Linked DNA regions of Homo sapiens: region 1 is linked to region 2. Evidence: promoter capture Hi-C in 16 types of primary human blood cells and fetal thymus (Javierre and others, 2016). All regions are on one chromosome and are shown on one strand. Each heading gives the region's core, a stretch centred on a gene start or on the middle of the fragment in contact. The rest is flanking DNA. Distances are from core to core; before and after follow the strand shown.

Region 1 (5,734 bases), core at 2,729-5,228, 200 kb after region 2:
ATTTTTCATAGGCATAAACAGAAATTAAAAATTAATATGGGCTGGGTGCAGTGGCTCATGCCTGTAATCCCAGCACTTTGGGAGGACAAGGCGGTGGATCATCTATGGTCAGGAGTTTGAGACCAGCCTGGCCAACATGGTGAAACCCCATCTTTACTAAAACTACAAAAATTAGCCAGTCGTAGTGGCAGGTACCTGTAATCCAGCTACTCAGGAGGCTGAGGCAGGATAATCAGTTGCACCTGGGAGGCAGAGGTTGCGGTGAGCCGAGATCATGCCACTGCATGCCAGCCTGGGAAACAGAGCAAGAAAAATAAAATTAATATGACCTCCTTTCTTGGCTGACCTGAATCATACTTTGCAGTTATTTTTTTTCTTGTGAAAGTGAGTTTGTATTTGGAAGGTCTGCAGAGAACACCAGGGATGAAGAGGTAGAGGAGGGAATAACGTTAGTTAGGAGTACAGTTTAGAGTGCTGTTGGCTGTTTGCCCAAATGCAAATTATTTAATTTGATCTGAAAGCTTTAAATGTAATATTTGTGAGGATTCAGTCCATCAGTAAATCATCAGATATGTGTGTACATTTGCTGTGTACCCAACTAGGCATCAGGGCGTACATGACAATAGGGGAGATTGTGTTCTGGTTGGAAAAGGAAGAATTAATTTAAGAAAATAGTTTGGAGTCTGCTTCCTATAATTTTGTTCTTAAATTTTAACCTAGTGGCAGCAACTTTATGTCCTTTCTCTCCCAGGACAGTTCTAGGGACAAATATTTAGCTCCACTGTGCCTACCAGGGAATTGTATTTTATAGAACGTGTGCTTTGATTGGCAGCTTGAAAAACATGGTTAAAGTCGTGATCAGCACGAATGGAACAGTCAGGAAATGGGTCCCAGGGAACTTTTCCATTCCCACTACTCTTTGAAAAGCCCTGCAAAGATGCTATTGCAAATTTCTGTCTCATCAAACCGGGGATATTACCTTTATAAAAAGAATGCAAGGACTCATAATTCATGATATCCTCTCACCAACGATAGATCTCTAAATTATCAGGAGTAAAGTATATTTAAGAGTAAGAAAATATCTATCAAAGAAGAAAGTCAAGAAATGAATCTGTTTAGTTGTTTTCTTCCTGCTAAGAGCCTCTGATGGAGCATTTACACTGGCTTATGCTCATGTGTGTAGGATCGGCCAAATGCAAGTGGAAAATTATTAGCCAGGCAGTAGTCAGAATGCTCATCCATTCAAGAGCTTCCATTCAGATATATGGAGCTGAAATCTGAAACTAAGGGCTCTGTCCTAACTTTAGCAACTTAATTGCATAGAGCTCCACAGTGGCCTGATTAAGAATGGCTGGTGTCTTGAAATATTTTGAAAATACTGATACCAAAAGATTTTATTCTGAAAAATTATTATCCAATGAGGAAAACGAAAAGGAACCAGTTACAGAAAAGCCTACAGTCTCCGGGGATTGATGATAGAGCACATCATTGAAATGACTGCTATTTCAGAGAAAAGCAGTGCGGAGTTTACATGCTTTCCTTATAACATGAAATTTTAGTCCTTTGTCCAACACTGGGAAGTTAGAGGGAAGGAAACGTCTCTTTACTAACGAGAAAATGCACATTTGCTTCAAAACTATGGGGATGTTCTTTTTTTTTTTTAAACGGTATCCTTGTAAGTTTCTTTATTTGAAATGTGCATGAAATACCACATATGAATTTCTTGAATTTATGTAGTACTTGACTTGTCAAAGATCTTTCTCATGGGTAGGATTATTGGCAGTAAAGATAAGCTGTGGGAGAAAGGCCGGGGAAAAGTCAGTTGATGGTGTTAATTTATGAAGCAGAGTGGAAACAGAAACTAAAGGCTTATTTTCTCTCATTTGAGCAACAGGCTGGTGTTTGGCAAACTGTCCTGGGGGATATTTAGGTGAAGAAGGGCAGGCGTCGTGATCGAAGACTTATCTCCCTTCTTTTCATCTGCACACTTCTTCTCTGACCACAGTTTGAGCACTTTTCAATCACCAGCAGTCTCAGCAGGGCAAGGCTGCCACACGCTTGCTAATGGTATCCCAAACGCTGCATTTCTGGGGCTCATCCAGGAAGCACGGTGATAGACAAGCGAGTTACCGTATTTCCTCTGAAACTGCCTCCCTAAACATCAAATCAATCAGCATGGTTGGACTGCAGGCCACCACTATGTGCTGGCACTAACTATACCATGCTTCTAGGCCCTGCTTGATACTTCCAAAATAACGAAGGACACACAGGCACGCCTATAAAGCGTAATGACTGTTTAGTTGGCCTTTCCGTGGGAATATAGAATCTGCCAAACATAACTACTGATTTAGAGCTCGTCTAGGAATTCCTCCTAGCCCTGAGGTCTCAGTGTTTAGAGATATTTTCCATAAACTGGCTTAAGCCACTGCAGCATTGAATAAATAAATGCAAAGCACAAAGCTGCCAGTGTCTCTCTAGAAGAGTAGATTCTGTGCAGTGGGGTAACACAATGAGCTGTGCATGGAGCCTCTCAGAACGGTGAGTAGCGAACTTCCATCTGACAAAACAGATTTTCTAGTTTGACTTTGAACTTAAGTCAACAAAGATAGAAAAAGTGTGGAAAGTGTAGTCATTTAAAAAGAAGGTCCTGGTGACTATTTTGCTAACTGCAGAAGGCTCTTTACCAGAGTGTTAGCAGTTTATTTTTCAGAGCATTTCCTCAAGACAATGTGTATGAAAGCATTTTGTAATCAGTGGAGTACTTAAACGGCAATGACTATGCAGATACATTTCCAAACTCCTCAAAGTGAAAATGTGTTAGAACATCAGATAAGAGTGAACAAAAGCACAAAAGAGGCATTGCACATCCCTTATAGGCACACGAGACAGTGTGTTCCATTTTGAGAGATCTTATTAAGGAGATTGAAGAGGCTGGGATAATTTTGAATACGATTTCTACCCAGGCAGAGTCAGATGCAGAATTAAAGAAGATAAAGTAGGAGACTTTAGGAGAAATGTATACAGTTCTCATTACCATATACATCCTCTCTTCCTTTAGTCAGAACAACAGCTCTTTGAAATAAGGAAAAAAATAGTCTTGCTCAGCCAAGAGGAACCTGGAAGCTCCCCTTGGATGTTACTGCCCAGGCAAACCTGATGTTCTGTAGTGTGTTCACTAGGATTCCAGAAGCTGGCCAAGTAAGGATGAAGCATCACTGTTTTAGGGGGAGCCAAACTGTGGTGTCCATGGCTGTTCCCCTATGCATCAGTCATTAAGCTTGCCACCAGCTGCTGACATCTAAAGCTGAAAGGAGGGATGTCACGGTACAATAAAATGTATAAGCCAATAAACCTTTATTTGGTGATTGGTCATGCTCTTCTGTATCCTGCCTGGCCATAGCCTATTTTTATCACCAGACTCAAGGAGGGCCTTCACTCACAGAGCTTGTCCACAATAAAGGCTCATTCGTTCCAGGCATAAGCATTGCCCCTAGAGCAGCCTCTACCTTCTCTTAAATAAGAAGACCAAGGGAAACCCAACAACAATAGCAACAATAATAACAAAACAATTGAGGACTGGACACTCACGAGCAGCACCATTGGCTGGGAGACCTGGTCCAGGATAGGTTGGGTGCTGGTTCCCAGGAAGGTGTACTTTTCACTGGAGTCTCAGTTGCTGGAGAAACAATGCTGAAGGTTCTCTTTGGTGACCATGTTATGTTTTTTTGTCTATGGAAACTCAAGCCCCGTGTGGAGGGAGTGCAGAACTTTGAAAGAGCAGTTCAGTAGACACACTAGCCAGGTCCCAGCTTTTCTATAGAAGGATCCTCATTCCTTGCTCAGAGAGATGCTGCCTTGATCTGAGTCTTTATTACTGAGAGAGGAGAAACTGTGCTGTGATATCAGCTATTGTGGTCAAGTTCATAGAGAACTTCTATCTAATCCTCCAAACCTGCTCTTAAGGTGGGTGTTTCCCTCATGACCCCACAAATCTAACTTTGTGTCATAGAGCTTTGATTTTTGTTCCAGCCCTGACACTTTACAGACATGAGCAATCTTAAGCAAAATGAGTTTCGAGAAGGTTACATAATTTGCTTCTTCCAGGTAAAAGAGACAGCAGGTATAAAGGTCCTGAGGTAGGAATGGAATGGGCATGAATGAATGAGTGAAAGTGCCTTGAAATAATCTCTTCACCAGGTTGTTACGTTTTCTTTATTTATGTCTTCTTAGCAAGGATTTCTCTAATATCCATCATATCTCTATTCCATTCTCCTGATTTCATTTCTTCAGAACACTTATCTCTTTCAGAAATTATCGTATTTGCTTCCTTGTTATTGTCTTGTTAGCTGAAAAGTCAATTCCAAGACAGTAAAGGCCTTGATGGTTTTATTCAACTACAGTATTCTCAGCACCTCAATGCCTGATACAAACAGATACACATCCCAAACACCTTATCTGAAGCCCATCGGGGCCAAGTGTTTTGACAATTCAGAATTTAGGAATCTCAAATGGTGAGTATCACTAAGTTATATAACACCCCCACAGAGTTTGGGGCTGCATCCCATAATCAAACACATTTGCTTTTCTGCTGTGAAACATGCAAAATGTATCAATACAGTAGTGCCCTCTTATCCATGGGGGATCCAGTCCAAGACCACCAGTGGATGCCTGCAAGCTTGGGCAAGACCAAACCCTATGTAAACTCTTTCTTTCTCCCTCTTTCTTTCCTTTCTTTCTTTCTTTTCTTTTTTCTTTCTTTCTTTCTTTCTTTCTTTCTTTCTTTCTCTTTCCTTTCTTTCTTTTCTTTTTTCTTTCTTTCTCTCTTTCTCTCTCTCTCCCCTCCCCTCCCTTCCCCCCCCTCCTTCCCTCCCTCCTTCCTTTCTTCCTTCCTTCCCTCCTTCTGTTTAAGATAGAGTCTCGCTCTGTTACCCAGGTTGGAGTACAGTGGCACTATCGCAACTCATTGTAGCCTCAACCTCCCGGACTCAAGCGATCCTCCTACTTCAGCCTTCTGAGTAGCTGAGACTACAGGTGTGTACTGCCACATCAGGCTAATTTTGTTAATTTTTTGTAGAGACAGGATCTTCATATGTTGCCTAGGCTGGTCTTGAATTTCTGGACTTAAGCAGTCTTCCTGCCTTGGCCTCCCAAAGTGCTGGATTACAGGTGTGACCCACTACACCTGGCCTCATTGTGTTTTTTCTTATATAACCACACTGTATGGGGAAGGCAGCACATACAACATGGATATACTAAACAAAAGGATGATTCATTTCCCAGGTGGAACAGACTGGGACAGCGTGAGATTTCATCACACTTCTCTCAGAATGGCAAGCAATTAAAAACATAAATTTTTTAGTTCTGGATTTTTCCATTTAATATTTTTGGACTGTTGTTGACCATTGGTAACAGAAGCCTCGGAAAAAGAAACTATGGATGAGGGGAGAAGACTGTAGTCACAATTAAGGCAGATCATAAAGACTGGGGACTGCCATGCATCCGTTCCGGTGAGTTCAATGAGCTTGCTGCCAGCTTACAGAAAATCTTTTGGTTTTCAGAGCATTTTGGGAGTTTGGAATTACAAAGGATTGAAGATCTGCAATCAATTAGTTTGTATTGACTGCATAAATTAACAAAACATGCCTTCTATGTGCCCAGGCAGTGTGGTGGGACTGGCTCTACAGCAATGAAATAAATCTGGTATGATCCTTTTCAGCTCAGATCTGCAGAGAAA
Region 2 (5,478 bases), core at 663-3,162:
AGGTCCCGGCTTGTCCATTCCAGAACTTCCAGGTTCGTTTCTTCTCCAGATGGGACCACTGCAATGAGCAAGGATTCTGGCCCCTGGGTGCCCCACGCCTTGGCGTTGCCTGGTCTGCCAGGAGCGGGGGATGTGAGGGAGGAGGCCCTCCCTCATAAGGGGGAAATCTCCTTGTCATCGTTGGCTGAGGCCGGCGACAGGGAGTCCTCATCCTCGGAGCGCGCGTAGTGCACCTGGCTCCCGACGCACTTGCAGCCCGCGTGACTGTTCCTCTGCGTGCCCTTCCCCTCCTTCTTGTGCTTCACTCGGCGGTTCTGAAACCAGATTTTCACCTGCTTCTCCGACAGGTTCAGGTAAGTGGCGATTTCAATCCTCCGGAGTCGAGACAGGTACATGTTGGAAGAGAATTCTCTCTCCAGCTCCAGGAGTTGCGTGCTAGTGAACGCCGTCCTCATCCTCTTGCCATTGGGTACCTGGCTGGCGTCAGAGCCTCCTGCGGACCGGCGAAGAGAGGGTAGAGAGGTAAGGCTCGGGCAAGGTGCTCCCACCCCATGTGCTAACCAGGACGCATTTCAGGGACCCACCCGGGGAAGCCCAGCCGAACATCTGTATCCCTTTCCCATTTCAAGGCACGTGGTTGCTTAGCGGGGAAGAAAAGAGACGTGCAAAGCAAATAAAGGTCTTCGATGCGCAGGATGCGAAGTCACAGGATTAAAGAGGGATGGGGGCTTGCACTATCTGATCGCCTCCCTTTGAGCCAAGCGGAGAAGCGCGCAGGCTTAGCCAAAAACGTCAAGACGCTTTAGCCGCCCCGACGCGGGGATGCCACACAGGTTCAAACACACCCACCCCAAATCCCAAGCAGTTAACCTCTGGTTTATCCGCCGTGACGTTCGAGGTCCCTAAGGCCCCAGTATTAATAAGGCAATACTCGAGCACCTACTACTAGGAGTAAAACGCACCAGGCTGAGTGGAGAAGCTGGCAAACTAACTTCCACTTTCGTGGAACTTCTGTGGCTGACTCTACGGTTACACTAAAAGCCCGTCCTCTCTCTTCACCCTGTCCCCGGGCTCCCACTTCCTCCACTGGAGGTGGAAAGTTTGCTCCAGGAGCGCGAAAGGCGCGGAGCGCAGGTGCCCCAAGACCCCGCCCTACCCATGGTGAGGCAGTGGAATCTCCGCGGGTCCGCCACGTTGTAGGTGGTGGCGGTGCAGACAGGTGCGTGGTGCTGCGGGTGCCCCAAGGCCGCCGCGGCCGCCGCCGCCGCTGCTGCTGCTGCCGCCGCCGCGGCCGAGCCAGGCTGCTGGGGCTGATGATGGTGATGGTGGTGCTGCGGCGGGTGGTGGTGATGATGCGCATGGTTCACCCGCGGGCAAAACTGCGCGTCCCCAGGAGCCGAAGAGAACTGGCCCTTAAGCAGAGGCAGTGCCCCTGCGGCCCCTGCCACCCCACTGCCTCCGGCCCCGGTAACCCCGGCCCCTGCGCCCCCGCTGCCGGCGCCCACAGACCCCCGAGAGGAGTGCAGGTGCGAAGTGACGCAGAGAGGGCACACGCAGAACGCGCCGCTCTTGCGGGACGGGCAGCCGGGGCCGGACACGGACATCACCAATGGGGGCGGCATGCCAAGCGGGATGAAGAAATCCGGCCCGGGGTGCGGTTCAGGCAGCGAGGGCGCAGGCCGTGAGGTGTCCTTGATGATGAGCGAGTCGACATAGAAGGAGCGCGACATGTCGAGAGGGGTGGGTGGCTGGAAGCCCCGGCAGTTCGCGGCGACCCCTCTCCTCTAGTGTTCTAAGCTCTGCCCTGGGAGCCGCGCAGACACGGGCAGTCAAGCCCTTGGGGACGCAGAGGTGTTGGCGTCTGGGCTGGGAACAAAGGGGTCCCCGGAGAGGGCTGGTCCTCACGTCCCCCGCCCGGCGCCCCGGCTCGGGTATTTTATAGCCCCCCACCCTGGCACGTGATGCTGCGGAGTACCGCTCGGCTCAGGCTCCTCGGCAGCTCCGCACCCTCGGGATAGGCTGCCCGAGTCACAACAGAAGCCGCGAGGAGGGGCGGGCGCGCGGCGGGGAAGAACTCGGGGGAGGGGGATGGGGGAGACTTTGCAAAGTGTAGGTTTTGTTAATTTCCCGGGGAGGCCGGCCTCCTCCCCCTCTTTCTCCACGCTTTACTGAGAAATCACAGCGCTGCATCCTCCATCCCACCCCCTCTCGCTACCCTGGCCGCAGCCCAACTCTTCCCCACGCCCCACCGCAAAGCGTACCAGGTGGGGACTTGGAGGCTTATTTAATAGGAATGCTCAGTGTTTCCAGCTCCTCTGTGGTAGGGGTGGCTGCGGCGCGGTGAAGTGTGAGGCCTGCGGTTTGGAGCAGGATTGTGCGGGCGACGGACTGGCAGTCGTCCAGTCCCTGAGCGCAGCTCTGGCCACGGTTACACCTACCCCTGTCCACAGCTTTTGGACTTGGCAGAGGTCATTCAGGTGGTTAGTTCAGGACTGTCCGGCGCAGAACTGTGAGGCCTCCCAGCTAAGAAACCGTCAAGCTTTTCATGCTGATGTTCGACAAGGTCTGAAGTGTCTTTGTACTTGGGGCCCTCCTGGGGCCACTCAGACCAACGACCCTTCCTTGTTTCCCTTTCTGATCGGCACCTCCCACTTCCGCAGAGAGAGAGAGATGTTGAAGAGTCACCCTTTTCTTTCTCCAAGTAGTAACACCATGGCATTCCAGGGCAATCCTACAAACTCCATCCTGAAGATTTTGGAGGGAGGACCTCAAACACCAAGCCCTCCTAAAGACGCAGCAGGGATTAGATAGACCTTCGCTCTGGGTCTGAGGATTTCCTGTCCCTCATTTTTACCAATCATGGGCAGCTTAGCAAGGCTAACCAGGAAGCACTCTTTCCTCTGCATCTTAAGAACCTAAAAAGGATGAAGAGGATTCAGCCATCCAGGGAATCTTGCCTCTGATTGGCAGAAGTGGCTTTGTAAGGGAACTCTCTCTGGTCCATGGAAGTCTTGCACACCCCTTACTGCCCGAGAGAGGGTGGCTGCCAAACTATTGGGACTATTTATCTTCGGAGAAGGCAAGGCAGCAGAGGTGGCCATTTTCTCTCTTCATTTCCCCCTGCAGAAAAGCGGGCTGGGGCCATGTGGTTGGGCAATAGTTAGAAGTCTGATCCTTTTTCCAGAGCAGCTAACTTCAATCCTGAGTTCATGATGGTGCTAAGAAACTTAGAGACAGGACTCCCTCCACCTGAGAGAACAAGGTGCCCAAATCCAGGAGAGCACTAGCTAGAGGCACGGCTCTATCTTTCCATCCTCTGTCTTCCCCTCTCCATCTCTGTGACAGTCTCTCTTGCCTGCTAGAGAAGTGTAATTGGGTTGTAGGGATGCCCGGCTCTGGGGAGCCCAGGATTTATGGATGGCAATTAAAGTTTTATGAATTGCAGCTGAGGCTGGTTATTGAGCTATTTGAATGTGATTAGAATTCAATTAGAAAGCGGTTAGTGGACGGTGGGTCTCTGGAGTGTAAACAGACAGCTATTCCAGAAATGTGCTAATCCAACATCTTGTGACAACAATTAAGGAGTCTCAGGGCTTAACATGGGGCAGCTCAGCTGTAACTACTTTTGTACCACAAGGTCTGCAGACGCTCAGGCTCACCCCAGCCCGCCCTTGTTCATGACTGGAGGATCTAGGCAATCCCCGAAATCATTTCAGCCCCAAGAAGAAGGCTTGGAGCCACTGATGGAGAATGGCAATAAAAAACATACCCTGCTGAATGGCAGGATATTTTTTACAGTCCTAAACTGTCCAAATAGATGACTCGATTCCCCCCATTCACTTTGCAACTATACAAGCATATATAGATATAGATACAGATACTCTTTAAGAATAATAGCTTTCTCTCTTTTCCTCCTCTGGGTTAGGTCCCAGGTTATCCACAGTCTGTTTTGGGCTGATGGTTTGAGTCACAATGTTCCCAGCAGTTTGGGATGTGTTCAGAGGAAGAGCTCCTATGCTAAAGTCCTAGAAATCGCACCCATGTGCAGACCATTTTACCTTAGAGAATCTTAACTATGCAAGAGGCTTGTGCATCTTATTCAATTTGTGTCTGACTGTGGAAACTTTCATTTTTCAGTGCCAAGGAGTTTTGAGAAATGTGAGGGGCTCATGGGGTTTCCTAAAGACTTCAAGGGGAGCAGTGGTTTCAGACCAGGCTGAGGCTGAAAGCAAGACCATGTCTGAAAAACTTGACCCTTAGGGTACTTGGTTAATTCCTTCAGCCCACCAAGAGCAAGTATACTGGAATCCCATTTCTTGCACAGTTTCTGTCCACTCTGACTCACTTCTCTAGTTCTCTTTGGATCTCTCAGTGTCTGCCAGTCTCTCTCCCTCCTTCTCTTCTGAGTCCAGCCCCTATCTGGCCCTACCTGCCTATCCCCTCCTCAAAGGAAGCCTACCCTCCATGCCCCCGGGGCAGCACTGCCCACCCCCCACCCCAGCCCTGCCCAGCCCTACTGTTCCCCAGAGTGCAGTGCCCTGAACCAGCAGGAGACCCCAAGTTCAGCTTTCTTTTCCTGAGAGGGAACAGACAGACCATTGGCGTGTGCCCATGGTGTCTGAGCCGCCACACAATTTTATTTCTCAGTGATTCTGTCCGATAAAATTTCATCGTCCATTAAGTAATCCCCAAAATGAGAGCTCTTATGAGCCTATAATGAGCTCTAATTGCCACAACTCCAGGAGCCACGTGGAAGGATTTATTCTGTATTAAGCAGTCGGGTACAGAGTACAGGCTGTTACCTAAGCCATTACTTTCATAATTCAAGGAGAAAATTAGTTCTTTTAAAGGAAAGGGGAAATCTTTTTATTATCTCCCTCTTGCTTGGGACAATAGAGTATGGTTTTGTCTTCCTTGAGTGCAAGACAGTGTCACATATGTGATGGTAACAAAATTGTTCTTTGTACCTCCTCCTGGCCAAGGCACTCCACCCTTACCCTCAACTTACAAAAAAAAAATCAAAGCTATTCTAGAAAGAACAGCAGAGGCATGGCCTTCTTGTCTCTCGATTCTCCAAGTTGAGCCTGGGTGAGCAGTTTCCTTTCAGCCCAACCCTGAGATTTGGATTCTCAGTTCTAGCTTCCAAAAGGTCTCCAGTACTTCTTCCCAGCTCTGGAATGGCACCTGACCTGAACCCCACATTCCTGTCTCACTTCTCTTTCTTCCTGTTTGCTTTCATGGGCAAAGTCAGGACAAGTAAAGGGCAGGGACTTAGCATTGCTTATTCAACAGGCCCCAGAGTTCTGACCCGTTCCTGTGCTTAGCTGTTTTTTTCAGGCTGTAACTCCCACTTTGCCCCTCCCTCTGTGTCCTCCAAACCTCCCCACCTCCCCCACCACCACTTTCATCCCCAGTCCTTTTTTCTCTTAGTTTCAGCATTTGCCCACATGGTTCTCCAGCTCCAAATGGAGGCTGCAG

What was found. Contacts are between HindIII fragments. The CHiCAGO score rates a contact against its expected background, and 5 or more counts as called.
Region 1: a contact is called between a fragment that was not itself captured here and the fragment with the promoter of GSX2 in region 2, in 1 of 17 cell types (neutrophils). The highest score is 5.1, in neutrophils.

What each region holds. Positions count from the first base shown.
Region 1 is chr4:53,902,506-53,908,239 of GRCh38, reverse strand. All of the region lies in intron 1 of LOC124900702 (a long non-coding RNA gene), which reads right to left. Among named protein-coding and RNA genes, the nearest start is that of CHIC2, 160 kb to the left of the region's middle. The HindIII fragment of the contact is 1,398 bases long and covers 3,280-4,677 here.
Region 2 is chr4:54,096,597-54,102,074 of GRCh38, reverse strand. GSX2 (GS homeobox 2) reads right to left here and starts at 1,912. Exons shown (of 2, transcript NM_133267.3): 1 at 1,157-1,912; 2 at 1-493. The coding sequence starts at 1,730. The coding sequence ends at 153. RefSeq lists enhancers at 1-485, 486-1,277, 1,278-2,068, 5,446-5,478. The HindIII fragment of the contact is 4,571 bases long and covers 1-2,541 here.